Linked DNA regions of Homo sapiens: region 2 is linked to region 1. Evidence: promoter capture Hi-C in human tissues and cell types (Jung and others, 2019). All regions are on one chromosome and are shown on one strand. Each heading gives the region's core, a stretch centred on a gene start or on the middle of the fragment in contact. The rest is flanking DNA. Distances are from core to core; before and after follow the strand shown. Region 1 holds the start of TMEM143 (transmembrane protein 143). Region 2 holds the start of IRF3 (interferon regulatory factor 3).

The links. The method cuts DNA at HindIII sites, captures the fragments that hold promoters and counts their contacts. A contact is called where the count stands out against the background at its distance.
Region 2: a contact is called between the fragment with the promoter of IRF3 here and the fragment with the promoter of TMEM143 in region 1, in 1 of the 25 tissues and cell types used here (hippocampus).

What each region holds. Positions count from the first base shown.
Region 1 is chr19:48,361,216-48,368,254 of GRCh38, forward strand. It overlaps TMEM143 (transmembrane protein 143), which reads right to left and starts at 2,725. Exons shown (of 8, transcript NM_018273.4): 1 at 2,683-2,725; 2 at 2,076-2,316. The coding sequence starts at 2,705. SYNGR4 (synaptogyrin 4) reads left to right here and starts at 3,152. Exons shown (of 5, transcript NM_012451.4): 1 at 3,152-3,322; 2 at 4,521-4,720. The coding sequence starts at 4,628. RefSeq lists enhancers at 2,277-2,326, 2,807-2,926, 3,297-3,446. The HindIII fragment of the contact is 11,146 bases long and covers 1-5,432 here.
Region 2 is chr19:49,664,324-49,671,017 of GRCh38, forward strand. IRF3 (interferon regulatory factor 3) reads right to left here and starts at 1,534. Exons shown (of 8, transcript NM_001571.6): 1 at 1,308-1,534; 2 at 351-523. The coding sequence starts at 515. BCL2L12 (BCL2 like 12) reads left to right here and starts at 1,610. Exons shown (of 7, transcript NM_138639.2): 1 at 1,610-1,744; 2 at 2,362-2,476; 3 at 2,696-2,838; 4 at 4,528-4,614; 5 at 4,701-4,792; 6 at 5,893-6,165. The coding sequence starts at 2,370. RefSeq lists silencers at 1,513-1,662, 1,703-1,782. The HindIII fragment of the contact is 43,433 bases long and covers 1-6,694 here.

The DNA.
Region 1 (7,039 bases), core at 1,475-3,974:
CATTTCCTTTTTTTTTTTTTTTGAGAAGGAGTCTCACTCTGTTGCCAAGGCTGGAGTGCAGCGGCCATGATCTCAGCTCACTGCGACCTCTTCCTCCACGGTTCAAGCAATTCTGCCTCAGCCTTCTAAGTAACTGGGATTATAGGCGCCTGCCACCACGCCTAGCTAATTTTTGTACTTTTAATAGAGACGGGGTTTCACCATGTTGGCCAGGCTGGTCTCAAACTCATGACCTCAGGTGATCCACCTGCATCGACTTCCCAAAGTGCTGGGATTACTGGCGTGAGCCACCATGCCTGGCCTTGAACCACTTCTTCTTCTTTTTTTTTTTTTGAGATGGAGTCTTGCTCTGTTGCCCAGACTGGAGTGCAGTGGCACGATCTCGGCTCACTGCAAGCTCCGCTTCCCGGGTTCACACCATTCTCCTGCCTCACCTCCCAAGTAGCTGGGACTACAGGAGCCTGCCACCTCGCCCGGCTAATTTTTTGTATTTTTAGTAGAGACGGTTTCATCGTGTTAGCCAGGATGGTCTCAATCTCCTGACCTCGTGATCTGCCCGCCTCGGCCTCCCAAAGTGCTGGGATTACAGGCGTGAGCCACCGCGCCCGGCCTTGAACCACTTCTTTATGTTTCCTATGTCAATGTCCTGGGTAATTGTCTTCACTTCTCTGAGCCTCAGTTTCCTCACTGGCAACAGAGGATTACACGCTCTTTCTTGGAGGGCTACGGTGAGAATTTGATGAGATTACACATGTCCTATATACACATGTGTTTACATATATGTGCATATATTTGTATATTTATGTGTGTATATTTGTGTACTTTTGTGTGCATATATTTGTGTGTGCGTGTATTTGTGTGTGTGCATTTGTATGTGTATATTTGTGTATTTGTGTACACATATTTGTGTATTTGTGTGTGTACTTGTATGCATATACTTGTGTGTATTTGTGTGTGTGTATTTGTGTGTGTATCAAGTCCAGCACAGAATTGAGTACATACAGTAGGTGTTCAGTAAATAAATGTTAAATTAATGAATGATGGTGAGGTGTGGTGGCTCATACCTGTAATCTCAGCACTTTGGGAAGCCAAGATGGGCAGATCACTTGAGGCCAGGAGTTCGAGACCAGCCTGGCCAACATGGCAATACCCTGTCTCTACTAAAAATACAAAAATTAGCCAGGCAAGAGTCCCAGCCTCTCGGGGGCTGAGGAAGGAGGATCACTTGAGTCTAGGAGGCAGAGGTTGCAGTGAGCTGAGATTGTGCCACTGCACTCCAGTCTGGGCAACAGAGTGAGACCCTGTCTCACAAAAATAAATAAAGAAAAATAAATGAATAATAATCCTCAAAATCCTCAATAATGACAATGATGATGATGGTGGCAATAAGACCTCAGGTTCTAGAGTGAGACCAAGACTAGGATGAGGTGAATATGGCACCCAAGGGTGCAAAATTTAACGGGGCACTCACTCTTAGGGTCAAGCGAGTGCCCTACTTGCCTAACCCTAGTCCTGGGCCAGCTCTGGAGTCAGACCACTTTGGTTCAAATCTAAGCCACTATGTTGTGGCCTTGGGTAAGTCACTTTCCTTCCCTATGCTTCCATTATCTCATCTGTAAAATGGGGATGATGGTGGTATCTCTCTTACTGATGATTCAACAATACATGAAAAATGTCTGGCACAGTGCCATGGAGTCAGAGCTCAAATTGTGTGATAATAATTATGATTACAGCGTTGTGACTTTATAGGTACAATTATTATCAGGTAGTAGAAATAGTAATGATGAGGATGATTACTATACCCATCTTAAAGAGGGAAAAACCATGCCCCAGAGAGTGCCTGTTCAAGCCCTCAGAACAAGCCAGAGTTGGGAATGGATGCTGCGTCTGCATCTCGGAGACCTGGCTCCTGCATTCCAGCTCATCTCCCGCCCACTAGGGAAACACGAAGGGACCCGGGAACTACAACTCCCAGGAGGCGCCAGGGCAGCTCTCTGCAGCAACTAGGGCCCTGCCGCCGCGAAGCCTGCTGGGAGCCGTAGTCCCCAGGCTCTTGGGCCTGGGACAGGCGGTACCTGTATTAGGAGGCGGAGCAGCTGCTCCTTGGAGAAGGGAATGAAGCGCTCGCGGTACTGCTGGGCCCAGTCGCGGGGCTCCCTGGGGTTCCACATCTTGCGATACTCCCCCATTTTGGCTGCCAGCGATGAGAGGGCCCGGGGGGGCCCGAGGAGCGCGGGCAACAGTGGCCATACTCGGACCCTGGACCCCCAGACCCCCCGGGTCACATGCAGCATGGCTAGACCCTTTCCCCGGAGCCTAAACAGAGGAAAATGGGCAGGGGTCAAAGGCCATCTAGAGGAAAAGCGCCCTCTCCACCTCCACGTCCCACCCTCCAGAAGCCGTCTCTACCCCAGGCAGGGCGCAGAGCCCATCCGCTCGCCTCAAAGCCCCTGTTGCCTGTCCCCTTCCCACACTGCTCAGTTGGCCTGGGTCCCAGACAGGGGTCAGAGGTCTTAGGTTCTGGGGCGTTTTTCAGGCCCAGAGACCCTGTAGTGGTACAACGTTTCTTTGGGGTCTAGACAGCGAGGTAGATCTTAGGAGAGCAGGAAATGCTCGTAAAGGTTACCTAGGGGGTGCAGGGCCGCCCTCCCTGGCCATGCAATCCCCCGATTTCTCCCTCACCTTAGCCAAAGCTCGACTGTCATTGAGCCTCCTGCGCATGTGCAGGAGGGCGTCCTGGGCTCCCGAGGTTCGGCTTCACCCAGCAGTAAAACGCATGCGCAAAGCTTCGGTCAATGCGGGCTGTCCATTTCTCACCGCCGACTCCCTACATCAACTACGCATGCGTTGCCTGCCTTTCTCCACCGCCGGCCTCGTTTGGGCGCGACGCATGCGCCGCAGGAGTGTCTCCTTGTCAGCTTGCTACAAAGGGAAGGGGCGGTGTGGACGCGAGACTCCCTAGAGGGATGGGGCGGGGTAGGGCTCCCGCGCGCAGTCCGCCAACGGCGCGCAGTCCAACGTTCGCCGAGGCCACGCCCCGGCTCGTGTCAGCTCCTGAGTAGGCGGAAAGAGGGAGGGGGCGGGACTTGGGCGCAGCCAATCAGCTGTGGAGGAGCGAAAAGGCGGGAAAAAGCGGAACCAAAAGAAGGCTGAGGTGGCGCTAGGGACCAGGAGGGGTGGGGGTGGCGAAAGGAAGGGCGGGCCCTCAGGTGACGCAGATTGGCCCTCCAGAGAAGGGGCGGCCCCTTCTCAGGTGCCGTCACCCCCAAACCTCAGCACTGCCATTCCAGGTCCTTAAAGGGGAGACCGCGATTCTAAGAAGGTAGCCCAGTGCCGGGGCGTGGCCTCATTCTGAGGTTCCCCACAAATCCGAGGTCCCGACTCCCAGCTTGAGGAGGTGCACTTCCGTGAAAATGGAGCTGAATTCGAAAGGGAGGCCCTTATTCTGGGAAATGGCCCCAAGTGACAAGGACAGCCTGAAATATGCCCTGAGATACCTGGGTTCTCCACGAAGGGTGCTGTCACCCCCAAACCTGAAAGGGATTATTCGGTTTCAGACCTCCCAGGGGCTCTGATCTCAATGGCCGCACCCCCTAGTCCCCAGAAAGTCCCACCTGTGTCCTCTCACAGAAGGACCCAGTCCCTCTGCAGGCCCTTCAGCTCCTGGGTCACAAGACGTGGTCCCCAAATATCCCAGCCCTCCCCTGCACTCCACCTCTGGGATCCCTGACAGCCCTCTCGCCCAACAACCCCCTCAGCCCACATTCCTGACTTCTGGAACCTGAAGCAGCCCCTTCACTTATGTCCCCCACTCCTGGGACCCCCAGAATCACCCTCACCCCAGGCCCTCACCTCTCTGGAATCCTCCATAGACCCCCTTAACCCACACCTCAACCCAGGGGACCCTTAGCGACTCTCTCATCCTGCACCTCCACCTCTGTGACCCCTGGCAGCCCTCCCCACACGACACCTTGCCTGGGACCCCTAGTATCCCCATCCTATGCCCCCCTCTCCTGGGACCCCCAGAAAGCTCCCTCACCACACACAACCCCATTCCTGGGAACCCCCAGCACCCGCATCCTATGTCCCCCACTTCAGGGACCCCTAGCAGCCCTCTCCACACAACACCTTTCCTGGGACCCCCCAGAACCCCCATCCTATGCCTCCCACTTCTGGGACCCCTAGTAGCCCCCTCACCACACAACCCCATTCCTGGGACCCCCAGCACCCCCATCCTATGCCCCCCACTCCTGGGGCCCACAGAAGCCCCCTCAGCACACACAACCTCATTCCCTGGGACCCACCTGCACCCCCATCCTACGTCCCCGACTTCTGGGGCCCCTGACAGCCCATTCACCCCACACCCTGACTCCTAAGAGGCTCAGCAGTCCCCTCACCCCACACAACTCCATTCCGGGGACCCCCCCCATCCCCACCCCATGTCCCCCAATCCTGGGGCCCCCAACAGCCCTTCCACCCCGTGCCCCTGACTGGCATCCCCCATCTGTGTCATCCCACAGCAGCCAAGCCCAGGGCTGGCCTGAAGCCCCCGGACGGCAGTGCCCAGCAGGCAGCGCCCAGCACCCTGGCTCCCACCTCCCAGTGGCCCCAAAGGAAAACAGCTGCCATGCACATCCCCAAAAGCCTCCAGGAGCTGGCCAACAGCGAAGCCGTGCAGTTTCTGAGAAGGCCCAAGACCATCACGCGGGTCTTCGAAGGGGTGAGGCCCTCCCATGGCCCGACTGTGCCCCTGGGTGACAGGAGCCAGGAGCTCTCAACTCCCAGACACAGTGCGGGAGATGGGAGGACAAGGAAGGGGTCAGACGGGGAAACAAGACAACGGAGCAAATGCTGACACCACCTTTTCCTGAGCACCCCACTATAGGCCCTATGCTATTGAGGCACTGATGGACTCTCATAGTAAGGAACAGCCCTCACAGTAGGTGCTGCAAGTCCCATCTCTGAGATAACAAAACTAGGGCTTAGAAAAGTTAAGTAAATTTTTTTTCTTTGAAACAATCTTAATTAGCCAGGCATAGTGGCACACACCTGTAATCCTAGCTACTGAGGAGGCTGAGGCAGGAGAATCACTCGAACCCGGGTGGTGGAGTTTGCAGTGAGTGGAGATCATACCACTGCACTCCAGCCCAGGCAACAGAGCCAGACTCCATCTCAAAAAAAAAAAAAAGAAAAAAGAAAAGAAAGAAACAGTTTCGCTCTGTTGCCCAGGCTGGAGTGCAAAAAGCAGTGGCGTGATCTCCGCTCACTGGAACTCCACCTCCTGGGTTCAAGCGATTCTCCTGCCTCAGCTTCCCAAGTAGCTGGGATTACAGGTGTGCGCCACTGCGCCTGGCTAATTTTTGTATTTTTAGTAGAGATGGGGTTTCGCCATGTTGGCCAGGCTGGCCTCAAACTCCTGACGTCAAGTGTTCTGCCCACCTCAGCCTCCCAAAGTGCTGGGATTATAGGTGTCAGCCACCGCGCCCAGCCTAAGTAAATTTTTTAAATCTGGGATGTCCAGTGGGGTAGCCACAGCCACATGTGGCTACCTCACTTTGCACTAATTAAAATAAAAGTCCATTCTTCACTCACAGTGGCCACATTTTAGGTGCTCAACAGCCACATGTGGCTGGGGACTCTCATATTAGACAGTACAGGCTGGGTGTGGTGGTTCATGCCTGTAAAACCAGCACCTTGGTAGGCCAAGGCAGGCAGATCATTTGAGGTCAGGAGTTCGAGACCAGCCTGGCCAACATGGCGAAAACCCATCTCTACTAAAAATACAAAAATTATCCAGGCATGGTGGCGCAAGCCTGTAGTCCCAGTTACTTAGGGGGCTGAGGCTCAAGGATGGCTTGAGCCCATGTGGCGGAGGTTGCACTGCAGCCTCGGTGACAGAGTGAGACTCTGTCTCAAAAAAAAAAAAAAAAATTGTGGCTGGGCACGGTGGCTCACACCTGTAATCCCAGCACTTTGGGAGGCCGAGGCGGGCGGATCGTGAGGTGAGGAGATCGAGACCATCCTGGCTAACACGGTGAAACCCCATCTCTACTAAAAATACAAAAAAATTAGCTGGGTGTGGTGGCAGGCGCCTGTGGTCCCAGCTACTCTGGAGGCTGAGGCAGGAGAATGGCGTGAACCCGGGAGGTGGAGCTTGCAGTGAGCCGAGATCACACCACTGCACTGCAGCCTGGGCGACAGAGCGAGACTCCATTTAAAAAAAAAAAAAAATTAGTGCAGATATGGGACATTTTCATCATGCCAGAGAGTTCTATTAGACAGCATTGGCTAAGGTCACGCAGTAACAGGCAGGGGCAGGATTCAAACTCAGATCTGTGAGATGCCAGAGCCCATTTATTTTCCACCTCCCAGTTGAGGGAGGAGGAGAAGGAGAGGAACAGGGGCTGGGGCTTCTAGGAAGAGAATAAGGAGTGCAGCCCTGAAGTGCCAGATGTTGGGTGGTAACCGTGTGCCAGGCACCATGCCACCGTTCATTTCATCATCCCCACACTCCTGAAGAATCTGGACACCTGGAGTCAAATCCTCATTCAGCCCAGACTTTGCTGTGTGATCTTGAACCAATCACTGTTCATCTCTGGATCTCAGTACATGAAGGGTTAGGGCTGTGGCTCTGACCTTTAACCTGTGCTGCTTCCACCACTCCGCTTTAACAGAATTGGAAACTAAGGCCCAGGGAGATGTTGAGACTTGATCGAGGTCTTAGGAGTAGGTGGAGTTCCCCGGCTCAGACCCAGGGTCTCCACCCCCAGAGTGCTAATCCAGAGTATCTCCTCTCTGCCCCTTCTAGAGCCTGAGCTTGGAGAAGGAACAAACAGGCCTGGAATCCTGGCTCAGGCACGTGCTGTCCATGCAAAGTGGCATACTGCCCAGTTTACCTGGGCCAGGCCTGATGTCCTTACCAGCAGCAGCAACTTTCTTTCTCAAAAGTGCCCCTTTGGTTTGATGGCTTGCCTGGTCACCCTGTGTCCGTGTGACCCTGAGCAAGCTATGTGATTTCTCTGAACATCTCCTTACTCTC
Region 2 (6,694 bases), core at 284-2,783, 1.3 Mb after region 1:
GGCTCCAGGCCTCACCTCTGATGTTTCAAGAACCATCCCCCAGTATCTATCCTACAACCAAGAGCCCCGGCCTCTAGAAAGCCCCAAACCCCCAGGATGCATTTCCTTTGCGTACTAACCGGCTTTCCCGGTTTTATTCCCGTAACCCTGCAGCTCCAACCCTGCTTGCGCCCCACCATCAGTCAGCGGATCCGGCTAGCCCCGCCCCTCCCGTTCTAGCCCCACCCACCAGCGTTGGCACGAGCCCGCCCCTCGCGCGCCACCTCCGCCTTCTCAGCCGGGCCCACTAGGAGTCCTTTCCGCCCAGCGCGCAGCTCCGGGTTTCCAGCGTCCCAGGTCGTCGCACGCACCTGGAAGATTCCGAAATCCTCCTGCTGTGCATCCTGCCGTAGGCCGTGCTTCCAAGGGATGCGGAAGCGCGTGCGGCTCTTGTTCACCCAGGCCACGCCCTCCAGTTGCCCCAGGTCCAGCTGCGACACCAGCCAGGGCAGGATCCGTGGCTTTGGGGTTCCCATGGTCCGGCCTGCGCGTATAGGGCATTTCCTGGGCGCGACCGGCCTCCCCCGGACCCACCTGGCCTGGAGTTTCCGCACCCAGACCTCCTTCTCACGGGCCACGGCACAGGTCCTTCACCCATATTTTCGGGGGTACAAACAGGAAACCTCCTCTTCCCATCCTCCCATCCTCCCGAGAGGCTCTCTAATCAGCTAGGGTTCCTTCCCATATCCATGGCACATCCTTCCCCAGCGTCTTCAGTGCAGACCCTCCACTCCCTCAATTCCGCCAGTATAGACCTCCTCCCTCCCCCACATCATCGAAAGTAAGTATCCCCACTTTCAGGGTAGCATCCTCTTTCCCTAGTTATTTCAGTGCAGAATCGATTCACGTGTAAGCCTCTACCTCCTGCACTTACCCCAATGTAGACCCCCTTCCACAGTCCCCCTACAGAAGATCTCCCAAAACATTTCCAACACAGAACTTCCATTCAATTCCCCTCCGACTGCCCGCCTCCCTCCTCCAGGACAGAGCACGCCCCAGGTTTCGAGACTGAACTACCCCCATCTACGGAGTCCACCCCTCCCTCTCTAGAACCCCCTCAGTGTAGACGCCTCCTCTTTTCCTCTTTCCTCCCTACTTTTTCTAGTTTTTCTGCAGCCGACCTCCAGCGTCGGCCACTGTAGCTCCTTCCTTGCTCCACTTTCCCCAGAGTACACAGCCTGCCTTTCCACTCTCCGTGCAGACCCATCCTCTTTCCCGCTCCTCGCTCTCGGACGCCACCAACGCTCTCCCGGGCTCTTCCGCGTTACCTACGATGGAAGGTCGGGGCGTGCGGGCAGCTGGAACCCACCCCTGTCTTGGAGCTCCGGGTAGCTCTCAAACTCGAGGCTGCGCACCCCCTTTCCCGTCAGCTGAGCTCTAGAGCGCTGGGGCTTTCTTTTTGATCGACTTCTTGAAATAAAACCAACTTTATCATTCTTTGGGTAACAGACCCAAAAGCCGATGGGACGGCCCGCTGGGCTGTTCCCGCCCCTATGCCCTTTTTTGGGTTTCCGGCCAGAGGCATGCTGGGAGCGTCACATGCAAATTGAGCGTGCACCCAGCGTTCCGCCCTTTCTACGCTGGGCCGGTTATCGACCCGGCCCAGTGCGCAGGCGCGGGAAAGTTGAACTAATAAAGTTTGTACGAGTTCAGTGGAGGAGACCGCAAGTTGAGTGGAGGAGGCGGCGGTGGGGCCCCGGACCAGGTCAGCGGGGTGTTGACGAGGGGTGGGGTGAGGAGGGAAGAGGAGGGGGCCGGGATCCAGTGGTGGGCACCCCAGTCCCGCTTCTCTGATATCCAAGGGTCCAGGGTCCTCTAGATTCCAGCAGGGGTCGGAGATTTGGAACTACACCTCACAGCAGGCTGCGCGGCGAAGAAGCGCGGACCTAGGGGAAGATTTGCCCTGAAACCTCTTGGGATTGGTAGTTCCCGATGCTTTAAGGGTTTCAGGAGTTTGGCATATGCCTCTTATAGAATCCAGGAGTTGGGGCGCTAAGCCTCTTCTTCCTGGGAGACCTAAGGGTCTGGGGCTCCAGTTCCTTTTTCTCTAAGACTCAGAAGTCCAGGACCCCAGCTCCCTCCTCCTTTAGACCCACGAATCTGGGCACCCAGCCCCACCACCTTTCCTTGGATCGAAGAGTCTTTTTCCTGATCGCTTTTTCGTCTGAGGACTCAAGAGTCTAGGCCCCCAGACCCACACTCTCCAAAGGACCCAGGAGTCCAGGCCCTCAGCACCTTCCTTGGGACTCACAAGTCCTGGTCCCCAAGCCTCCACTTCTTGCTAAACCCTTGGAGTCCAGTCCCTAACCCTCTCTCTCACAGGTGCCTCCATGGCAGGCTCTGAAGAGCTGGGGCTCCGGGAAGACACGCTGAGGGTCCTAGCTGCCTTCCTTAGGCGTGGTGAGGCTGCCGGGTCTCCTGTTCCAACTCCACCTAGGTAAGAGGAGTGGCCCTTCTCCCCCAGGGGCCAGCATTTGAGGCTCCCTCCTAACTCTTGCTCCTGGTCTCAGTCTGTCTCCTCTCTTTATATCTGGCTCTATTCTCTGTCTTTGGGGTTTTGGAGAGAGGTCCTCAGCGGGGGAGGGAGGGAGTTGGGGAAAGAGACTGCTTGCAGGGGATCTCTGGTGGGGTCAGTCTCTGAAGTCCTCCTCTCCAGAAGCCCTGCCCAAGAAGAGCCAACAGACTTCCTGAGCCGCCTTCGAAGATGTCTTCCCTGCTCCCTGGGGCGAGGAGCAGCCCCCTCTGAGTCCCCTCGGCCTTGCTCTCTGCCCATCCGCCCCTGCTATGGTTTAGAGCCTGGTAAGAGATTTCCATGATCATCTATGAAGCCGGCAGAACACGGGATAAGGTGCTAGTTTAAGATCACTCAGCTAGGGGGTGGCTGTGTGGAGTCTCTAGCACCAGCCTTCAGGACAGAACCGTCCTGTCCTCTCCCCTCCCCAGTTAGATTTCTGTCAATTCTGTGGGTTGGCTTTCAGAGAGCATTTGGTCAATCTGGTTGTTGTCTCTTTCCTTCCATAACTACTTCCCTGCCCCTAGGACTTTTGTAGCCAGGAATACCCCTGATAGAGGGGCAGAAGGGCTGGTTTTCAATCACATCTCCCTGGCTGTTTTAGTTGCGTGACTCTGGGGAAAATGCTTTCTCTTCCCTGCTCCCCTGTTTTTCCAATAGCAGAGTAGGAATTGGGGAGGAGGTCACTGGACTTGATCAAGGTGACCCACAAGTTTCCTCATAGGTGTGAACCTGGACAGACTAGTAATGGCTGCTGGGAGTGCTAGCTTGAAAAGGGGTTCACAGCTTGGGAGAGGAAGTGCTGTGATCAATTGGTGATGTCTGTAGTGAGTGAGGGAAGGGGATACTAACAGTAATGTCTTGTGTTTGCCTTCCTTGGATGAGATCATCTTCAAGGTCTAGTTGAGCTCTGACAGTCTTTTGGAGACAGATTGTTGCTCTGTCACCCAGGCTGGAGTGCAGGGGTGCAATCTCGACTCACTGCAATCCCCACCTCCTGGGTTCAAGCGATTCTCGTGCCTCAGCCTCCCGAGTGACTGGGATTACAGGTGCACGCCAGCATACTAGCTGATTTTTATACTTTTAGTAGACACGGGGTTTCGCCACGTTGGCCAGGCTGGCCTCAAACTCCTGGCCTCAAGTGACCCTCCCACGTCGGCCTCCCAAAATGTTGAGATTGCAGACGTGAGCCACCGCACCCTGTCAGCTCTGACATTCTTTTTTTTTTTTTTTTTTTTGAGACGGAGTTTCGCCCTTGTTGCCCAGGCTGGAGTGCAATGGCCCGATCTCGGCTCACCACAACCTCTACCTCCCGGGTTCAAGTAATTCTCCTGCCTCAGCCTCCCAAGTAGCTGGGATTATAGGCATGCGCCACCATGCCCGGCTAATTTTTTTTGTATTTTTAGTAGAGATGGGGTTTCTCCATGTTGGTCAGGCTGCTCTCGAACTCCCAACCTCAGGTGATCTGCCTGCCTCAGCCTCCCAAAGTGATGGGATTACAGGCGTGAGCCACTGCGCCTGGCCCCAGCTCTGACATTCTAAGTCCAGTCTGAGGATCTCATAAAGTGAAAAGTACAAGGGTTTTGGCATTTTTAACCAAGTTTTCTCACTGGGCCTCAGTTTACCCCATTATAAAATGGGAATCATGGCCAGGCTTGGTTGCTCACGCCTGTAATCCTAGCACTTTGGGAGGCTGAGGTGGGTGGATTGCCTGAGGTCAGCCTGGGCAACACGGTGAAACCCCATTTCTACTAAAATACAAAAAATTAGCCAGGTATGGCGGCGTGCGCCTGTAGTCCCAGCTACTCATGAGGCTGAGGCAGGAGAATTGCGAGACTCCGTTTCCCAAAATCAATACATAAATAAATAATAAATAAAATGGGAATCATTGCCACCTGCCAAGGTAGTTGGGGGAAGGAGAGAATCCGTAAGTTTCCAATGTCCTGGAAACCTGTCATTAACTCTTTTCACCCCAGGCCCAGCTACTCCAGACTTCTATGCTTTGGTGGCCCAGCGGCTGGAACAGCTGGTCCAAGAGCAGCTGAAATCTCCGCCCAGCCCAGGTGAGGCACAGAGGAGCCCCAGAGAAGGATGGCGGTGGGAGGATAGTCAGGGTTCTGCCCCCAGCCAAATTCTCTTCTGCCTCCAGAATTACAGGGTCCCCCATCGACAGAGAAGGAAGCCATACTGCGGAGGCTGGTGGCCCTGCTGGAGGAGGAGGCAGAAGTCATTAACCAGAAGGTGATGGGCATCTGTCCCACTCCTTGGCAAGGACAGGAGTTGCGGAATGGTGGGGCACTGGGATCAGAAGCTGGATCTGTATTTTCTTTGGATGGTCAGGTGGAAAGAGGCTGGGACAAGGTTTCAATGAAGGGTTGAGGCCGGGTGTGGTGGCTCACGCCTGTAATCCCAGCACTTTGGGAGGCCGAGTTGGGTGGATGACTTGAGGTCAGGAGTTCGAGACCAGCCTGGCCAACATGGTGAAACCCCATCTCTACTAAAAATACAAAAATCGGACAGGTGTGGTGGTGCGCTTCTGTAATCCCAGCTACTCAGAAGGCTGAGGCAGGAGAATCGCTTGAGCCCAGGAGGTGGAGGTTGCAGTGAGCCAAGATTGCGCCACTGCACTCCAGCCTGGGTGACAGAGTGAGACTCTGTCTTTAAAAAAAAAAAAAAAAAAGAATAGTTGAATGACAGGGGTATGGTTAGGGTAGTACTGTACCGTAAATTAGTTGTTTTAATTGATTGTTTAGAGGGGCATGGCCTAAATGCAGAGGGTGTGGCCATCAGAAACATTATCCACAAGAGACTGGCCAAGCTGGGGAAGTAAGTGAATGAATGTGGGGGTGGGGGGAGTGGCTAAAATCTTACTGAGCATAGAAGGGACCTGGCTTAGAATGTAGGGGAAAATGTACTACCAGAGGAGGTGTGGCTTGTGGCTGTGTCCTGGAATCTGATTGGCTTCGGAGCTTGGACAAGGTACATCGTCCTTTAATATTAATTGAATGGTAGAGGGCAAGATTGTTGTAGACACTAGGTTGGCCCCTGGGAAAGGTCACCAGGGGCATGGCTAGATTAACTCAGTTACAGTAGAGATTGGCCCTGATTGGCTGTTGAGGCAAGGGCCTGGCATGGCTTAGGGACTCACGTTCCAGGCCACTATCCCGGGGGTAGTTTGGCAGAGACCCTGGAGTCTGGCTTGATTGGCTAATATGGATGAGGGGTGGCCTAGAACCTTAGCATCTAGAACGATCCTGAACCGGGAAGCCACGCCTCCCGGCCCTCTATTGGCTGGCCCCGGGGGCGCTGCTGACGCGGACCCTGCCTCTTCCACCCTACAGCTGGCCTCGGACCCCGCCCTGCGCAGCAAGCTGGTCCGCCTGTCCTCCGACTCTTTCGCCCGCCTGGTGGAGCTGTTCTGTAGCCGGGATGACAGCTCTCGCCCAAGCCGAGCATGCCCCGGGCCCCCGCCTCCTTCCCCGGAGCCCCTGGCCCGCCTGGCCCTAGCCATGGAGCTGAGCCGGCGCGTGGCCGGGCTGGGGGGCACCCTGGCCGGACTCAGCGTGGAGCACGTGCACAGCTTCACGCCCTGGATCCAGGCCCACGGGGGCTGGGTGAGCCGCTGAAGCCTCTCTCTCCGGGCCTCACTTTACCTAACTGTCATGTGATAGAGGAGGGGCGGGGACTTCTTAGGTTCCTCTCAGACCTCAGGTATTCTCCCAGCTCCACTGCGTTCGTTCTGTTGAGCCCTTGCTGTATGCCAGGACTGCAGCGATGAGTGCAGACACTATGCCTGGCGTCAACGACTGGGTACGCTAATACTGTGAGCGTGAAACCAGTGACTGAGGTTACTCAGGGAGAGGCCGGACGGGGTAGCTCATGCCTGTAATCCCAGCACTTTTGGAGGCCAAGGCAGGAGAATTATTTGAGGCCAGGAGTTCAAGACCAGCCTGGACAACATAGTAAGACCCCATCTCTACAAAAATTGAAAATAACTAGCCAGGGTCGGGTGCGGTGGCTCACACCTGTAATCCCAGCACTTTGGGAGGCCGAGGCAGGTGGATCACCTGAGGTCAGGAGTTTGAGACCAGCTGGCCAACGTGGTGAAACCCTGTGTCTACTAAAAAAAATACATAAATTAGC